2 separate regions of the Homo sapiens genome follow, and region 2 is linked to region 1. The links are contacts of gene promoters, found by promoter capture Hi-C in human tissues and cell types (Jung and others, 2019). All regions are on one chromosome and are shown on one strand. The core of a region is centred on a gene start or on the middle of the fragment in contact, and the rest is flanking DNA. Distances in the headings are between cores, read along the strand shown. Region 1 holds the start of MC5R (melanocortin 5 receptor). Region 2 has its middle 71 kb from the start of ZNF519.

Region 1 (6,707 bases), core at 3,235-5,734:
GAGAGGCCAGCTTTCACAGAAGCCAGGCTCCTGAGACACATCCCACGGGAACAATGCACTGTGGTTCCCCATGGTGGTTACACGGGACCACTTACTGCCCATTCGTGGATACACACATGAATTTTCAGCAAAAAGGAACAGGAAACATTTGAAAAGATAGCTGCCCCTTCAAAACTCAGTTGCCAACAGCCTGCTAATTTGCCAGTTTTCAAATGATTTGGATGTCTTATGCACACTCCTGTTCATGCCAGCACCGTTTCTTTCCTGGACTCTGCATTTCCAGGGGCAGGGGTCAAGTGCATAAGTTATTGATATGGCTACACCCAGGAAGCCCCTCTGTCCTGGCAGGCCTCAACAGGAAGGGTCCCTCTTCTGCACTAGCAGCTCACTGTTGTGTGACCCAATGGTCCTCTGCTTTATATACATTTTTTTCATTGGGTGCAGTCTAGATGTGAATGTCCAATACAAAGCAGAAAATAGGAATCATACCAAAAGTTATTACAAGAGTGGACTGTGAGAGCTGCAAGGACTCCAGCCCTTTGCTTCAGAGAAGGACCACACAAGCCTCCTGGTGTCCAGGCCACTGCTCTGACCATTGGCCCCCGTGTCCTTCCTTAGTATTTACCCCATCTAGTCATTTCTTTTTCTTTTTCTTTTTCTTTCTTTTTTTTTTTGAGACAGAGTCTTGAATGGTTGCCCAGGCTGGAGTGCAATGGTGCAATCTTGGCTCACTGCAACCTCTGGCTCACACCTCTAATCCGAGCATTTCTTTAAAATAAAAAGCAAACCCTATAGTGCTTTACAAATTTACAAGAAGCTCACACAATTTTGCAGTTCTCATGGCCATCGTGTACAGTCAGCACAGATGTGGAACCTGAAATAAGATGATTCACGCCACACAGCAGTGAAAGGCAGAATTAGCACCTGAACTCGGGTTTCTCTGCTCCAGTCTAGGTTGGGAGAAGATGGGGCTCCCTGGGCTATAGGTTGGGCCCTGACCTTTGTTGGCTGCTGAAATGAGATTGACATGCCTCCAAGTACACAGGCCAGAGTTCAGACTCCAACACAGATCCGGTGTGAGCCACTCAAAGCAAGCCTGGCTGTGGACGTGTGCTACTTGCAGCACTGGGCACCTTGAACTCCTTGAGCCCCTGTAATGCCCCCAGTCATCCTTTTGGAAACCCCAGATTGAGCCCAAATAAGACAGTAAGAAAGAGTCACAGAGTCTTCCACAGCACATGAGGCAGGGTTTCTAGCATAAGGTTTTATGTCTGGGTAAGCGCAACACCATGATTGACAGAAGTACAATTATTCAGACAATTATGAACAAAAGCCATGAATCAAAAGTTCAGGCAAGGGGAGCAAAGAAGACATTTCAGAACAAATGAACAGATTGCTTCTGATGGAAAGAATCTGGCCACTCTTTTCTTCCCTGAAAAGCATGCATAGCTCAGAGTGCAGCCAGCAGAGTGTGGACCTGCTTCTGGGGAGAAGAAGCAATCCCACCTGGCGTCGATATCACGGTTTTCTTCGCGTCACAATACGTGTTTCATCATGTCTGGCTTGCACTGAGGGTGCTGTGCATTCCCCGAGCACATGCCTGCTAGGTGGAGGGTGGATGGGGCCCCCAGAAATGGGTGGGAGCAGTAGAAACCATAGGACACAAAAGGACAGTAAGAAATTGTCATGACTGTCCCCAGAGTGGATAAGCAACCCTTGCATGTTGGACATAATCACCAGGAACTGAACAGAGAGAGCCTCTTAGGCCCATGTCTGAGCTGGTAAAGAGAAAAATGGGATGCTAGCACTCCCGCCTACCCCTTGGCTGTCGCTTTGTCATAGGTGAGCAAACAAAGGAGAACAGAGCCACAGAGAGGAGCACTTTGTGCTTAATCCCTTCTGGGAAAGCTGCAGGCGATCCTGAAACCACGGCAGCAAATAATCTCCTTAAAGGTCTTCCGCATCTCTTGGCTGCGGAAGGCATATATGAGAGGGTCCATCACGGAATTACACATGATGAGTATGAGGTACATATTGAAGTGAGACATGAAGCGAGAGCAGTAGAGGTTCTGAGGGCAAGAAAGCATTAAAGTGAGATGAAGGAAGAACGGGGCCCAGCACACGGTAAACACGCCCAGCAGCATGGTGACGGTGACCGCGCCCTGCATGCTGGTCCTCTGCCGCGCAGAGCTGGCCCCGGGCAGAGCCGCGATCCGCTTGACGTGAGTCCGCGCCAGGAGGAACATGTGTATGTACAGAGACACCAGGAGGAACAGCATAGCGAAGAACATGGAGATGAGGCACAGGATGACGTAGGTGGATTCTGAGTACAGGATGAAGACAATGCCGCAGCCCGTGCAGAAAGCCCAGATGCCGGCGATGATGGCCCCTGAGCGCCTCGCCGTCATGATGTGGTGGTAGCGCAGGGCGTAGAAGATGGTGACGTACCTATCCACTGCAATGGCCAGTAAGCTGCACATGGATGCCACCACGGAAATGCAGATCATGGAGTCAAACACATTGTCAATGTGGCGCACAAAGGCGTCTGCTATCACTAGGTGCTTGTTGTTGAGTAGGTAGATGGTGATGGTCTCCCAGGCACTGGACATGCTCACCAGCATGTCCGCCACTGCCAGGCTGCACACGAAGAAGTACATGGGGGAGTGCAGGTTTTTGTTCTTCACTATGGCCCCTATGACCAAGATGTTCTCCAAGAGGCTGATGACACCCAGAGTGAGAAACACCTCCACAGCAATGCCCATGTCTTCACATGGTGAAGACTTGTTTTTGACATTGGGTCCTGAAAGGTTGCCCTCTGTGGCATTCAGGTTGAGATCCAAGAAATGCAGGTGAAATGAGGAATTCATTGCTGGAGAAATACACCTCTTGTCTTGGCAGCAAATTTACTGTAAAACATGTTTTAAATTCACAATCCAAAGAGGTTAGCAGCCTACCAAAGAAAGACAGCAGCTAGCCTAGAACCAACACAGCCTAAGAAAGGGGATGAATGACACAGTGCATCAGAGGACTGGGCTCGGCTCACTCAGTCCTTTTTTTTTTTTTTTTTTAAGAGACAGGGTCTCCCTATGTTGCCCAGTCTGGTCTCAAACTCCTGGCCACAAGCGATCTTCTCTCTCAGCCTCCCAAAGTGCTGGTACTACAGGGGTGAGCCACGTGCCCGGCAGCTGGCTTGCACATTCTGACCTGCGTTCCTGAGACCTGGAAGAGTGCCCCTGGACACGCAGATTAGAATCTTCACCAGCCTCTTCTGCTCTCCTTGCTTTCAGCTCCCAGCCTTTCACATGCATCTTACTAGAGAGACACTCACCTCCAAGTGCCCAGGACAGTTTCACTTTTTATGGCTTCTCTCCTGGGCTCAAGTTCACTATCATAAGTGTCCCCAACTCATAACCTACAAAATCCCAGCCAGTCTCCCAATGTTCACATTCCTAAGGCTACTGCACGACATTCTCCTCAAGGGAGCTCCGATTTAAGACTGCCCAGACCCGTATTCCCTTAAGACAGACAGACAGGTGCATCCCTAACACTTGTCCTGACACTTCTTAGACCCATCAGGATTCAGCCTCCACAGCTGTAAGTAAGGCTATAACCAGAATGGTCTGTTACCCTGAGCAAAGTCACATGTTAAAAGCTACTGTCTTAAGTTTGTAAGTGTAGGCTGCACATACGTGTTAAAATTGAGGAAAACAGTGCTGCTTTTCCCTCAATACCTATTTTTCCCTCGCTTCTGCATTATGTGGAATTCCATGAGGTCTGCTTGATAGTTTATTAGGTCCGCGTGAGCACAGTATTTAAAAAAAAAAACAGCAATTTAAATGTACCACACTCCTTTGTTGCAAAATTTCTCTCTTATGATTCATTTTCAAAAATCCCTTTGCCCTCCAAACTCAGATCACATCTGGAGAGAATTTCTGTCATCACTGTCATCATTAATATTTGTAATCACTTTGGGAGGGAGGGAGGGGGTGAGGGACAACAAATTACTTAATAGGTACAATGTACACTATAGGGGTGATGGCTACACTAAAAGCCCAGTCTCCACCACTATGCAATACATCCATATAACAAAACAGCACCTGTACCCCCTAAATCTATAAAAATAAAAAAGGAAAAAATTGGTAATCTAAGCATTTATTGAACTACAATCATTTGTTACAGCTGAGTTCCAGCTCAGATATATCGGTAAATTATGCAATTATACTAAACATCATATCGAGCTGTGTTAAAAACTCACGGGGCAAGCTAGCTGCCGCCCCGCTCACTTCCACATGCAGCGGAAGCGCGATTTTGCATTTATTCTCAGGATCTCAAGGAGATAGAAAGTTGTGGCTATTTACCGGTGCTCCTCCTCGCGGGCCGCGGCGCTCAGCCCGGGCCCCCGGCGTCCCCGGGATCCGACGGCCGTGCGGCGCTCAGAGCCAGCCCCGGACGGGCCTCTCCCCCAGCTAGGCGGCTGCGGCTCTGCGGGGCTTTAAGCCTCCTGCCTGCCCGCGCCGGGCCCGCCTCCGCACCGCCGGCTGTCGCTCCGGGCGGCCTCCGCTGCCACCTAGTGGCCCAGCACGGCACAGCGGCCAGAGAACCGCGTCAGCCCCGAGCGAAAATCCCCCCGAACACACTCTTGAATGGTTGGATGGTTGCTTGGTTGGTTGGTTGGTCGGTCGGGTCGGTGGGTCGGTCGGTCGGTCGGTCGGTCGGTTGAATGGTTGGTTGGGTGAGTGGTTGCTTGGTTGGGTAGTTGGTTGGTTGAGTGGGTGGGTGGGTGGTTGCTTGTTTGGTGATTGGTTGGTTGGGTGAGCAGGTGGTTGCTTGCTTGGTTGGTTGGGTGGTTACGGGTTAGTTAGTTGGGTAGGTGGGTGGTTGCCTGATTGGTTGATTGGTTGATTGGTTAGGTGAGTGGATGGTTACTTGGTTGCTTGGCTGGTTGGGTGGGGGGTTCGTTGATTGGGTAGGTGGGTGGTTCCTTGGTTGGTTGATTGGTTGGTTGGGTAGGTGGGTGGTTGCTTGGTTGGTTGATTGGTTGGTTGGGTAGGTGGGTGGTTGCTTGGTTGAGTGAGTAGATGGTTACTTGGTTGCTTGCTCGCTTGCTCGCTTGCTTGGGTGGGTGGGGGGTAGTTGGTTGGGTAGGTGGGTGGTTGCTTGGTTCGTTGATTGGTTGCTTGGGTGGGTGGGTGGTTGGTTGGGTGAGTGGATGGTTGCTTGGTTGGTTGATTGGGTAAGTGGGGGTTGGTTGGGTAGGTGGGTGGTTGCTTGGTTGGTTGGTTGGGTCAGTGGGTGGGTGGGTGGTGGGTGGTTGCTTGGTTGGTTGGTTGGGTCAGTGGGTGGGTGGGTGGGTCGTTGGGTGGGTGGTTGCTTGGTTGGTTGGTTGGGTCAGTGGGTGGGTGGATGGGTGGTTGGGAGGGTGGTTGGTTGGTTGGTTGGTTGGCTGGGTCAGTGGGTGGATGGATGGGTGGTTGGGTGAGTGGTTGCTAGGTTGGTTGGGTCAGTGGGTGGGTGGATGGGTGGTTGGGTGGGTGGTTGCTTGGTTTGGTTGGTTGGGTCAGTGGGTTGGGTGGATGGGTGGTTGTGTGGGTGGTTGGTTGGTTGGTTGGTTGGGTCGGTGGGTGGATGGATAGGTGGTTGGGTGGGGGAGTGGTTGGTTGGGTCAGTGGGTGGGTGGATGGGTGGTTGGGTGGGTAGCTGCTTGGTTGTTTTTCTGGCTGGTTGCACTTTTTGTTTCTTTTCTCTTCCTCTTGAGCACTGATTAAAATGCTCCCGAGCTCAAAGAGGGCTTGTCACCCCGTTTCTCCTGGACAGTGGTCTCTGGGATGTCCTGATGATTGTTCTTTGGGAAGGAGGCCCAGTGCCTGGGAGCCCTCATCTGTGGCCCTACCACGCCCCTCTTTGCCCAAGGCTCTCACCCCTCCTCCAGGACTACACATGCCATGCCAGGCTTTATCAACCACACAGGCTTTCCTTACTCCAGCAAAAAAGAACAAAGGATGTCCTCTCACCAAATATCCTGGCCTTTCGCAATAGTTTCTGGACCCCACTCCTTCTCTGACACCTAAAACTGACCTTCAACCCCCAAAAGAATCATTATACTCACAATAAGCAGAAGTGCCACTGCCCTGCAAGCCAGGGCAGGATGCACGGGGCCATATCACTACCAGAGCTTTCCTTGGGCTTTGCAGATGATCACAACCTTCCAGTATTTCAAGTGTGGGGACCACAGTCTGGCTGGCCTCACGCCACTGGAGTCCCAAGCCGTGCTGGGAGCCACAGGGTGGAATTCTAGAAGGAGGTTCTGAATGTTGAGAATACATATTGGGAATGTGGTGTGAGGGAGGGAACCCATTTCCGTGTGTTGAAAACATCAGCAGGGTCAAGCACTCCCACATATAGTCCTCACATCCAAGATCAGATCAGAGAGGGCTCTGCAAAAGGTCCTGGTGTCCCAGGAAAGTGCTCAAAATGGAGGGCTCTGTGCAAGATGAGCAGCTGGACCACAGCAGGCGGCCTCCCACAGTGGTGAGGGCGGCTGGCCCAGGGGCCCTATGTGCAGGGGTGACCCTGAGTGCTGCACAGGAATTACCTTCCTCAACCTTTACGAAACCCTAGAAGTGGGTTTCTCCTCTCGCAATGGAAGGAGCCGGTGCTGGGAGAGGTGACTTAGCAAGCTCCAGCTTCCAGCGCTAGAGAGCTGAGCC
Region 2 (6,637 bases), core at 2,764-5,263, 380 kb before region 1:
AAAGGGATTTTTAGATCTGTCATCCTGATGCTTCCCTTCCTAACTGCTTTTTATGGATACTTGTGACCACTTTTTTCATCTGTATTCAGCAGTAGTATACACCTGTAATCTCTCTTTTTTCATCTCATTTTCCTTCCCCTGTAGCTAGAATGATGCTCAGAAATAAAAGAAAATTAATGCTTTCCCTGGATTCTGTTATTATTCAAATTGCTCTCCAGTGGTTCTTTTTCCAGATTTCTCTAAAGGAAGGCTATTCCCTTGCTATTCAGAGCTGTGTCCAAGGACCAGCAACAACATCACCTGAGTACTCATGAGAAACGCAGACTCCCATACCCGCTAAATCAGAATGTGCAGTTTCTAGAAGCTCCTCAACTAATTCATGACGATCTGAATGCCCTGTTCTACACTTTATGTGATTCCATATTAGTTTACCCTAATTGCCCTTTTTGGCCTAGCCTCAATTTCTTCCCTATTATGTCTCTGAATTTAATACTACATTATAAGCCATAATGTTAATATGGCTTTTAATAACTTTTAATCAGGTAATACCTTCTCTAGTTAATTTCTTTCCATACATCACCCAACACTATTCTTTTCAATTATGTTAATTTAGCCTATATGATAGTATCCTATGAGGTTACAACATTTTCTTTAAAACCAAATTATAGCCATACATGGCTGACCATTTATGGTGATGTTCATCTATGGTAGATAAAACACAGGTCTGTGTGGTAAAATACCTCAATCCTTAATGCCTCCCCAGTAGTGAGGATGACAGCAAGGGTAGGAAAATGTTACTCTAATTCTCTGACACATGTTGGTACTGGAAGCTCACTTTATCTTCCTTCCTATTTCTAACACCCTGTTCTTCCTTTTTCTACAGATCAATTTGACTTTACTACCCTCTATTACATACATCTGCATATGTGTTTTTATTTATTCCATGTACACTCTGCCCTCATCTTTCTTTCTCTTTTATTCATTTCCTCTTCCCTCTCTCCTGACTTGCCTTAGGTCTTAGAGTATCTTAAAATGGAACTCACAACTCAGCTCCTTTAGTGGTACTCCCAATAGAATCAACTGCTGACCCTTGGTTAGAGACACAACTTATCACCATTTCACTTCTCCTTTACTTATTATACAGCTAATAGGACATTTTCTTTAGCTATTAGACTCTATTAGTGCTCATATTTTCAAAGAAACATTCCATCAAATGACTTTTTTTTTTTTTTTGAGACAGAGTCTCACTCTGACACCCAGGCTGGAGTGCAGTGGAGTGATCTCCGTTTACTGCAAGCTCCACCTCCCAGGTTCACACTATCCTCCTGCCTCAGCCTCCCAAGTAGCTGGGACTACAGGGGCCCACCACCATACCTGGCAAATTATTTGTATTTTTAGTAGGGATGGGGTTTCACCATGTTAGCCAGGATTGTCTCGATCTCCTGACCTCATGATCTGCCCACCTCAGCCTCCCAAAGTGCTGGGATTACAGGCGTGAGCCACCGCACCCAGCCTGCAACAAATGACTTTTTAAATAAAATACGGTTCTCACCTTCTCCTTTTCCATTGACTATTCTGTTTCCTTTTCCATGGGAAGGTCCACGTAAAGGCTCTGACACTTTCTCGGGGACACACTGCTAAGGTAATATCAAGAATTAATTTCCATTTTAAAATTATAATGAGTTGCATCAAGACTTTCTTATCAATCTCTTTTTATGAAACTGGGTCTCACTCTGTCAACCCAGGGCTAGAATGCAGGGGCCTGATTATGGCTCACTGTGGTCTCAAACTCCTGACCTCAAGCAATCTTCCCACCTCAACTTCCTGAATAGCTGGAACTACAGGTGCATACCATCATGCCATGCTAATGTTTTTATTGTTATCTTTGTAGAAACAAGGCCTCATTATACTGCCCAGGCTGGTCTCAAACTCCTAGGCTTGAGTAAATCTTCGACTTCTGCCTCCCAAAGTGTTGAGATAAGCAGTGTGCACCACCACACCCAGCCCTAATCAATTTCTTTAAATCAATCTCAATGTTGCCCAGGCATGGTGGCTCACACCTGTAATCTCAGCCCTTTGCAAGGCCAAGGTGGGTGGATTGCTTGAGTTCAGGAGTTTGAGACCTGCCTGGGCAACATAATGAGAACACATCTCTACACAAAAAATACCAAAAGGAGTCAGGCATGATGGTGTGTGCCTGTAGTCCCAGCTGCTTGGGAAGCTGATGTGGGAGGATCATTTGAGCCTGAGAGGTGGAGACTGTAGTGTGCCAAGATCATGCCACTACACTGCAGCCTGGGCAACAGAGCAAGACCCTGACTCCCCAAAAATATCAATTTAAAATGTGAGAATGAAGAGACATACAAACAAAAAAGAAGCCTAATTGGTCAATGAAATATGAGCTTAAGCCAAGAAAGAAAAGAAACAACATGAAGTACAATAAAGTACATGGGGAAATAGATCTATAACAGAGCCTTCTGGTCTTTCATATCCCTGATAATACTAATTAATATTTATGCTACAATTAGTTTTTTGTAAGTACTTCTGTGATAGAGTTTATTACTATAAGACATTCAGTTAACTAAATATGGTCATCTACCACTACCTGAAAGAACATTATTATAACAGAGAGAGAAAACTGGAACTTTCCATCAACGTTCCACCCAGAAAAAGAATTGGTCACCAGAATTCTAAAGAGTAATGTATGGCAGACACATGAAAAAATGCTCATCATCACTTGCCATCAGAGAAATGCAAATCAAAACCACAATGAGATACCATCTCACACGAGTTAGAATGGCGATCATTAAAAAGTCAGGAAACAACAGGTGCTGGAGAGGATGTGGAGAAATAGGAACACTTTTACACTGTTGGTGGGACTGTAAACTAGTTCAACCATTGTGGAAGACAGTGTGGTGATTCCTCAAGGATCTAGAACTAGAAATGCCATTTGACCCAGTCATCCCATTATTGGGTATATACCCAAACGATTATAAATCATGCTGCTATAAAGACACATGCACAAGTATGTTTATTGCAGCACTATTCACAATAGCAAAGACTTGGAACCAACCCAAATGTCCAACAATGACAGACTGGATTAAGAAAATGTGGCACATATACATCGTGGAATACTATGCAGCCATAAAAAAGGATGAGTTCAGTCCTTTGTAGGGACATGGATGAAGCTGGAAACCATCATTCTGAGCAAGGACAGAAAACCAAACACCACATGTTCTCACTCATAGGTGGGAACTGAACAATGAGAACACTTAGACACAGGAAGGGGAACATCACACACAGGGGCCTGTTGTGGGGTGGAGGGAGGGGGAAGGGATAGCATTAGGAGATATGTCTAATGTAAATGATGAGTTAATGGGTGCAGCACACCAACATGGAACATGTATACATATGTAACAAACCTGCACGTTGTGCACATGTACCCGAGAACTTAAAACATAATAATAATAATAATAAAGGGTAATGTATGGCTTGAAAAGGTATATTTAATAGAACCTGAGTTGGGACTAATAAAAAGCTTAAGAAATGTTAATCTAAAATCTCAATGTTAAGATTCCAGTTCAATGATACTAGAAAATATATTGTAACCCTCTTTGCTACTGATGACCTATTTCTAATTTATTTCCTTTTTAATTATGGCACAATTTATCAACATAACACATCAAAACTTATACGCCCTTAAATATTAAAAAATAATACAAATGTAAGCAATATTTTAAATATAATATTTAATTGTTAGATACATTAGGTATATTATATTACTTATAACATTCCATTATATAAAAATTCATTTGTCTATTTATTCAGATTAAACAACTATTAAGGCTGAATGTCTCATGCCTGTAACCCCAGCACTATGAGAGGCTGAGGCGGGCAGAACACTTGAGCCCAACAGTTAAAGACCAGCCTCGGCAACAAGGCAAAACCCTGTCTCTACAAAACTCAGCCGAGCATGGTGACACAGGTCTATGGTGACATACCTCTATTGTTTCAACTACTTGGATGGCTGAAGTGTGAGGATCTCCTGAGCCCAGGAAATGGAGATCGGAGTGAGCCAAGATTTCACCAGTGCCCTCCAGCCTGGGTGACAGAGTGAAACCCCATCACAAAAAACAACAAGTAAAATGCTTTTTACATGGAAGACTGTATTCTAGGTACTCCAGGATACACACAAATATGTTTACTGACCTCCAGTAGCCTGTAGTATGCAGGAGCTTCCAATGATTATTTAAACAACTAAATAGAAAACCTTCTGACATTCAAAATTTCAGAATAGGATATAAGGACTTTGAGTGGTTATTTTATTTTTTAAGATGTAGTCTTGCTCTGTCACCCAGGCTGGAGTGCAATGGTGCGATCTTGGCTCACTGCAACCTCTGCCTCCCAGGTTCAAGCAATTCTCCCACCGTGGCCTCCTGAGCAGCTGGGATTACAGGCATGCACCATCACACCTGGTTAATTTTTGTGCTTTTTTTTTTTTCTTTTTTTTTTTTTTTAGAGACAGGGTTTCATCACGTTGGCCAGGCTGATCTTGAACTCCTGACCTCAGGTGATCTACCCACCTCAGCCTCCAAAAGGGCTGGGATTACAGGTGTGAGCCACCACACCCAGCCAAGTAAATATTTTAAATAAACTACAATGACAAAATTATGATGATAAAGTCTTACCATATTGGTATTAAGAGTCTCTGCTTCTAGAACTGGTTATTTGCAGCAAAATACATGTTATTCAATTAGATGAAGTGTTTTATATGAACTCTTCATGGACAACTCATAAAACACACAAAAATCCCTTTGCAATACAAATTTTGAGAACATAAATTTAAATGTCTATGTTTCCACAATTTATATTTTTAAATCAGATACAGTCTTGTTATGTTGCCCAGGCTGTTCTCAAATTCCTGGGCTCAAGCAATCTTCCTGCATCAAACTCCCAAGTAGCAGGGACTACAGGTGTACACCACCACACTCAGCTATTTTTCTACAATTTTTAATATTATTTTAGTCTCACTACAGAACCAATAATATAAGTAGAGAAACAATCTCTCCTAAAAACTATGTGATACCAAAATAATAAGTTTCCAAGAACAAAAGCTGTATGCTATGTGCTGAACCTTTTTGCAACTAAAAGTTACCAGGAGAATTCCATGATTACTACAAATAATTTGATCCACTGAAGAGTTATACAGGCATAAATATTATGAAAGTCACACTCATATGATTTAAAAGTCAAAGTATTAGTATTTATCCAAATAAAGCTTAATCAAATTTCATATTTCCTCTATTGGAGAAAGCACTTCCTAATGTGATTTTCCTCTCACTACTTATTTTCCAGTTCATTTTTTTCAGCTCCTACCCTGTCACAGTACTTATCAATCTTTGTTAGTTACCAAAGTTAAACAAATTTTTTCAGTCAACTAGCCACATATATGTTTTTCTCTGACCCACTTTCCATTACCACCATAAAACAATGATAGGTAAACCACTGCTAAGTTTGAAAAGTAAGTACTATGCAAAACTACATTCAGAGTGAGAAAATTAATTTTACAAGAGACCACTTTACCTTAGCAGCAACACTCAAGAGTTCGTCATCCAATGCAGACAATGAATCCACACACAGTTCATGGAAAATGCTTGAGAGCAAAAATACACAATGAAAATGAGCAAGTTGATTTCTTTACAATTTTTTAACTGCCAGTTTATATCCAGCTTTCCCCTCAAAAAAGGAAAGAATAATCTGGGGAAAGTTCAGTGATCTATATATTAAATTATGATTCTTGATATAATTAAAATATGTCCTCTGTTCTAAAAATAGATTTTAATTACCAATTTCTGCCTCCACCTGTCTAAATCTATAAAATATTCAATGAAAACTAACCTTCAGCTTCATAACAAATAGTGACAGTCAATATATTGGCAGAGCCTGACAATAATTTGCCCTCACAGATTATCTGTCCTGAAGCTGAACTTAAAACTCAATTAATGGATGACATAAATTTTGTTACCTAAACTGGAAGAAAACTGATGACCTAAAACAAGGTAGAAAGATCCACTGTCTCTTTTCCATGATCTATCTCTGGTTAAAAGACTAATCTGTATCACTTTGAAATGGCAGTCTTGATTCCTCAACATGGAACCCACTTAGGAATGTCCTATTGCTTTCCTTTGCCCTAAATCGGTACAGGAAATCCCATGCAATATTTGAAAGGTATGAAAGCTACATGTACAAAAATCAAATAACAAAGGTGTATGTTCTTATTGAGAATACTTTTCCCAGAAAGATTAAAATATTAATAATTATAAAATCCCATTATTTTCACTCTATAAGTCCTACTTTATTCAGGTCCACATAAACTAGCAAGCCCTTAAAAATTTTCATAGGCACTCAGACACCCAAGGAGAGAGACTGCCAGAAAGACAGAGTCCTGGTAGTTGTACCTCTATTTTCCTAAGTACTATCTAAGTATCTATCTTCCTATGGGCTCCCACTTCCAGATTCCACTTCTGCAGGGCTCCACAGAAGTCTCCAATCTTCAAATCTTCAGCCTATGAAAGCACAGATTCCTGAAAGGATGGCCTCAAATGACCAGGAGTAGGAGCCCTCTATATCCCTGCTC

What was found. The method cuts DNA at HindIII sites, captures the fragments that hold promoters and counts their contacts. A contact is called where the count stands out against the background at its distance.
Region 2: a contact is called between a fragment that was not itself captured here and the fragment with the promoter of MC5R in region 1, in 2 of the 25 tissues and cell types used here (dorsolateral prefrontal cortex and lymphoblastoid cells).

Annotation. Positions count from the first base shown.
Region 1 is chr18:13,821,926-13,828,632 of GRCh38, reverse strand. It overlaps MC5R (melanocortin 5 receptor), which reads right to left and starts at 4,484. Exons shown (of 2, transcript NM_005913.3): 1 at 4,359-4,484; 2 at 1,310-2,906. The coding sequence starts at 2,867. The coding sequence ends at 1,890. RefSeq lists silencers at 4,280-4,369, 4,380-4,669, 4,635-4,815. The HindIII fragment of the contact is 21,381 bases long and covers 1-6,707 here.
Region 2 is chr18:14,200,148-14,206,784 of GRCh38, reverse strand. It overlaps the pseudogene ANKRD20A5P. Among named protein-coding and RNA genes, the nearest start is that of ZNF519, 71 kb to the right of the region's middle. The HindIII fragment of the contact is 5,032 bases long and covers 1,498-6,529 here.